Linked DNA regions of Homo sapiens: region 1 is linked to region 2. Evidence: promoter capture Hi-C in 16 types of primary human blood cells and fetal thymus (Javierre and others, 2016). All regions are on one chromosome and are shown on one strand. The core of a region is centred on a gene start or on the middle of the fragment in contact, and the rest is flanking DNA. Distances in the headings are between cores, read along the strand shown.

The links. Contacts are between HindIII fragments. The CHiCAGO score rates a contact against its expected background, and 5 or more counts as called.
Region 1: a contact is called between the fragment with the promoter of NDUFB11 here and the fragment with the promoter of KDM5C in region 2, in 2 of 17 cell types (naive CD8 T cells and erythroblasts). The highest score is 5.9, in naive CD8 T cells.

Annotation. Positions count from the first base shown.
Region 1 is chrX:47,143,192-47,146,018 of GRCh38, forward strand. NDUFB11 (NADH:ubiquinone oxidoreductase subunit B11) reads right to left here and starts at 1,511. Exons shown (of 3, transcript NM_001135998.3): 1 at 1,282-1,511. The coding sequence starts at 1,488. RBM10 (RNA binding motif protein 10) reads left to right here and starts at 2,030. Exons shown (of 24, transcript NM_005676.5): 1 at 2,030-2,294. RefSeq lists an enhancer at 2,054-2,323. The HindIII fragment of the contact is 2,886 bases long and covers 1-1,855 here.
Region 2 is chrX:53,223,640-53,226,475 of GRCh38, forward strand. KDM5C (lysine demethylase 5C) reads right to left here and starts at 1,568. Exons shown (of 26, transcript NM_004187.5): 1 at 1,101-1,568. The coding sequence starts at 1,250. It also overlaps a transcript of IQSEC2 not described here. RefSeq lists enhancers at 1,110-1,209, 1,450-1,829, 1,668-1,962, 1,840-1,889. The HindIII fragment of the contact is 15,929 bases long and covers 1-2,836 here.

The sequences.
Region 1 (2,827 bases), core at 261-2,760, 6.1 Mb before region 2:
TTCTAGTCTATGTTTACCTAAGTAGCATACTTTCCCCATTCTCTGTATATCATACATTCTCATGTTATATTATCTATTATACTACTTTGTATTATTGTTTTCTAATATTTTACTGTTTATTTTCTGTCTTCCCCACTATCATGTAAGCTCTATGAGAGCATGGGCTTTGTCTGATTTCCACACTGCTGTATCCCCAGGGCCCTGAACTGAGCCTGGCATACAGCAGGCCCTCAATACATATTTACAGAATGAACAAGCATCCTATATATCCAAGCCCCTTAACCAGAGGTTAGTATTGATGAAGTACTTATTATGTGCCAGTCTTTTCACATAGAAACACCTCACAATATCTCAGTGAGGTGAAACATGGCAATAATAAACACATTCTAGTGCTGAGTACATACTTACGAAGTGCCAGCTGCTGTTCTGACCATTTTTACTCATTTAATTACATGAGGCAGGTGGGGTGTCCTATTTTTTAGAAGGTGTCCTATTACTGTTCCCATCTTACAGACAAAGAAACTGAGGCACCAAGGGTTTATGCTACCAAGATCACACGGGTGGGTAACCGTCAGTGCTGCCTGATTTCACAGCGTCTGCTATTAATACAGCACAGCAGACCTGGTAGCCCTAAATTCAAATACCAGTTCCACCTCCACCATGTATTCAGTTATGTGAGCTAGGGCAATCCACTTAACATCTCTGTGCCTCAGTTTCCTCATCTGTAGGATGAGTATAATAATAGAGCCCACCTCGAAATGGGGTTTGTTTCGAGTATAAGATGAGCTAATGCATGTCAAGTGTTTAGAACACAGACGGGGCCCGGAGCGGTGGCTCATGCCTGTAATCCCAGCACCTTGGGAGGCCGAGGCGAGAGGATCGCTTGAGCCAGGAGTTCGAGACCAGCCTGGGCAACATAGCGAGATCTCGTCCCTATAAAAAAAAAAAAAAGAATGCAGACGGCAACGAGCAAGTGCCATATCGGTGTTTAGTATTATCGTTGTACTATACTGCTTCTAACGTGTTTTGAGCGCTGTCCACTTGAGGTGTGATTTCTGTCTGCAAAATAAAACCAATCCTGCCTCTGGCCCTGGAACGAAGATACCGAGAGACAAAGGAGGAACACAAGGTAGGCAAAATTCCCAAGTCTTCTAGGCTTTCGCCGGCCGCGCAGTCCTCTACTGCCTAAGAACGTCCTCTACAGCGCCCCATCTGCCGATCCCGGACTGACCCCTTCGGGGTTCCGTCCCCACTACCCCCCCCCCCCCCCCCGCCTCTCACCTTCTCATACAAGTTTTCGTCCTCGGGTTCTGGGTCCTCTTGCCACGGTGTGGTCGGTTCTGGGGGCCGCTTTCCCGCCACAGCGGACGGGGCGACCACAGTCCTGGAGAAGCTAGATTCCCAGCGGACGCGGGCGGCCGGGAGCCCTCGCGTCGCCGCTGCCGCCAAAAGACGGCGAGCGCTCAAACCAAACAGCCCAGCCGCCATGACAGATGGTGCTGCAGGGTCTCAGGGGCGGGGAAAGAAATGCGACTGTGCGCAGCTGCAGTGGGTGCGAGCGCGACAATCATCGCCCCGCCTCCGCCACGCTATATAGGTCCCAGATCTGATTTGGTTTTCCAATGAGGCGGGGCGTTGAGCAACCCTCTTTGCCTCCAGTTGTCGTGGCTTCGTGGGGCCAACCATTTTCGGCCAGGCTGAGAAATTTCTTATTGATGGGTCTGCTCATTTCCTGCATAGGAAGAAATCGGTGACATTTGGGTGGATACAGTTCCCAGCCAATCGCCCCGAGTTCCCTCGCCCACTGGGGAAAGAGGCAGAGCTTCCGCTAGTCTTTCATCTTCAAAGGAAATCAAGCTTCTAAAAAGCGGGCCCTGCCGAATTGGCTAATAGCTACTCCTTTTCTCCACTAGGGGAGCGTTCGCAAGGGGTGTGGGGAGGTGGCCAGCGCTTGCCAATCAGAGGAGGCCAGGGCTGTCCCCTAGCGGGCGGTGACCAATCGCCGGGGCCGGCCAGAGCGCGCTTCCTTAGTAGGTGGATGGTGGTCGGAGCGCCGACTCCCTTCTCGTCGTCGCCATTTTGAGCTGGTGACTGTGGCCGGCTGGGAGTAGGCGGCAGTGAGTTTCCCTGGGAGGGCAGCGCGCTTGGCGCTTCTCCCCTCCCCCCGATCTGCCTCCAGTCTCGGACTTGGTTGTTGCGCGCTCCGGCTCCGGCTGAGCTGGGAGAGTTGGAGGAGGTGGCGGCGGGCAGAGGTGATGTCTGGGAGCCCTTCCTTGACAGCCCGGGCCGAGAAGGTGAGCGTCGACGCTGGTCGTGGGGGCGGAGGTAAGGGGCCCGGGGCGGGGACGTAGAGGAGGCGCGAGGGCGGACTTCGGGTCGGGGGAGATGCGCGGAACGGAGGGGTTGGTGCAATGTCTCAACCCGGGAGGGTTTTTTTTTTTTTGGTTTTTTTTTTTTTTTTTTTTTTTTTTGGTGTGAGCAAAGGCGCGTGCGCGACTGGGACATGGGATGGGTGCATGCGGGTTGGGGGAAGGGAGGGACGGATGGGAGTGGGCTACTGTGGATCACTGTGTCGGCTACATCGAAGTTTATCAGTGGGGAAGCGGTTGTCTGCGACTTTGAGTTTGTGCATAGGAGAGGGGATGCTGCTCTGTGTTACTCTGGTGTTTATCGGTCCATGGGGAAATATTCTGTGGTTCTGGTCTCTATTCCTGGGGGATCGGAGGGGGGATGTGACTCTGGTCTTTACCCTTTGAGGGGGGGCGGTCTGTGACTCTGATCCTTATCCATGGGGCGGGGCTTGGGGGACGACTGTCTTTTGATTGAC
Region 2 (2,836 bases), core at 318-2,817:
GCAAGGCAGCAGCTTGCCCTAGCCCTTGGGAGACTTCTAGCCTGAAGCCAGGCCTAGGAGGAAAGCTATGGCCTTTGTTGCTGACCCCTGGCAATCATGTTCCAAAAGGGACAGAATTCCATGGCTCCATTCTGTTCTGCGGGCCCAAGAGTGCCCTATCCTCTGGGATCTCCTACATCCTGGACCAGAGGAGAGTAGAAATCTTCTGAGAAGGACTCACACCCCACCACCAAGCTGACCGGTCCAAACATCTCCATAGGAAGTCAAGTCTGCGGGATGATGTGCAGAAAAGGCCTTGACATTGCCTTCAACGAGGAAAAGAAGAGGACAATTCCCTGAACCCACCTCAAGGGAGACAGAGCAATCCCTGTGAGACTGATTTCCTGACTGGTCCAGCAGGCCAGGATATTATCATAGATGAATTGGCCTGGCAAGGTATGAGTAAATATGAGTCAACCTACATAGGAATAAACCAATGACCACATCAAACACCCTCACAGTCACAATAATTACCACTTATCTAGTGCGTACTACATACAGACGCTACCTAGTTTAATTCAATCCTCTAAATAACCATTTCTGGGATCCATTTCACGGGCTCAGAGAGATTACTTCTACTTTCCCAAGGTCACACAGCTGCTCAGCTTCAAAGTGGAGTTTTGAACTCAAGTCTGTCTCCCTTCAGGACTGCGATCTTTCTATTAATACTATACTATGCTGCCTGCCTTAAAGGAAGTGATGACAACAGATTGGAGAAACGTCTTATTTTTACAGCCTCGACCTAGGTGGCCCGGGCTAAGAGATGTGCGGGGTGCCTCTCTGTGAACTCCCTCCGGCCCACTAGGAATCCCTGTCTTAAACCCGGAGTGATTCTGAAGGGCCGGGGTGGGGGTGGATCTCTGACTCCAGGTCACCTGTGGGCCTCACACCACGAGAGGACCCCTGGCCCAACACCCTTTTTCCGATCCGCGCCGCAACCACAACGGTCCCAGCCACCCCCTCTCCCCACCTCGAGCTGCCCTCCGCCCCAGACTTCGCCGCTGGCTATCCTACTGCTTCATTCCGTCTCGCCGCCGGCGAAAACCGGCCCCGGGGCTTACCGCGGGTGGGCGGATCTTGCAAATGCCCGATTTCTCTGCGATGGGCCTGATTTTCGCGATGTAGCCAAGAGGGTCTCGGAACTCGGCCCAGCTAGGCTCGAACACCGGGCACTCCGGTGGCGGTAGGAAATCGTCGGACCCCGGCTCCATGGTGGGCCCGAGGTCTGGGCCAGGGATCGGGAGGCTTGGACCGCCCTTAAGGACTCATGGCGCCGCCGCTGTTTGAAGCCGAGGCAATGCTCGGAGGCTAGGCCCTAAGCGGGGCAGCCGCCGCCCGCCGAGGGCCTAAGGGGGCGTGTGGCCGTCGTGCTCTGAGAGTCTCAGGCTGACTCTACTGCTACCGCCTCTTCGTCCCGCTCCGTTTCTTCCAAACTGTGTGGTTGCCTCCCCACTACCGCAGCCTTCGCCACCACAGTTACCTCCCAAACGCCGCGGCCTTCAGCGCCGCCGCCGCCATCTTGGTTTGTCAGCGTCTCCCCTCCCCACACCACAACAAACCGGATCCTTCCGCGGGGTGTCCTTCCGAGCCTCGTATACGTTGCGTCACACCAAGCCCTAGGAAACCTTCATATAGTGGAGACCGAGCTAAATAGGCTGGTATGGGTTTCTATTTGGAAGGGGTTACTCAAAAGTACCACCCCGGACTGAGAGAAAATAGTTCATTGCAACGGCGGAGGAACAAGATTGTAATTAGTTTGCCGGATCGTCTTTCCGGATGGACCGGCGGTGCACGTTTAAAGGCCAGTGATGCGCATGCGCGTTATGGAGACCGGAAGAGGAGCTGGTGTCCGTGGGTGGTGGAGTCAAACCGGCACTCCCCCGCAGACCTCAACCAGGTCGCTAGCCCCGCACCAGTGTTCTCTGTCCCTTCTCCCTGGTCTTAACGGTATGGGCCGCGGAAGGCGGCTCTGGGAGCCTGATTGCAAAGGACCCCTTATGCTGGCCCGCGGGATGGGGGGAGATGTACTAGGCTCCAGCTCTAGACACTGACACCTCTGGGGCTTTGAAATAAGGAAGGCAGGAAGCTGCTCACTCCCCGGGGATTATGGATTTTTAGGATTCTGAGTCCCAAGTAAAGGAAGGAAATCTTTATTTCATCCAAGGTTACAGGTAGAGAGATGGGGTTTCGATTCTTACCCCCCAAAAGTCACTGGGAGTCAGCATTTTAATGAACGCTTTCAACTGTTCTGTATTCACTTTTACCATGTACACATTTGTGGCATATACTCCTACAAAATAAGCCTGTGTGTATGTATACTTTAACTATTGGATGTTTAGCAACGGCGTATTTATCCAGTGTCAACTGTGTAAAACACCTGTTTGCCCATTTGTGAGCCTACAGTGCACTTACCAAACATCCGTGTACTTTTATTGTATTTATTGTGTATAGCCCCTGTGCATTTGGTACCAACTGTATGTACATTTAGTCCTATCGTGTGCATGTTCCTTGAGCAGTTTCTGAATAGGTTCATTGCAACTACAGTACTTTGAATGAGTATCATCAAACCAGTACTTTGTACATATACATCAGGCATCTACTGATTGGAGGATCATCTGTGTCATTCATCAGCTGTGGACCTACTGCATATAGTTTGAACACCTACTGTGCAAATATTTGAGTACTTGCGTACATGCTGATTAAGTAATTTTGTTTTCCCCCATCAGACTATGAATTCCTTAAGGGCAGGGACCATGTGGCCTTATACATCCTTAGCACTTGGCATGTTAAGCAGTAA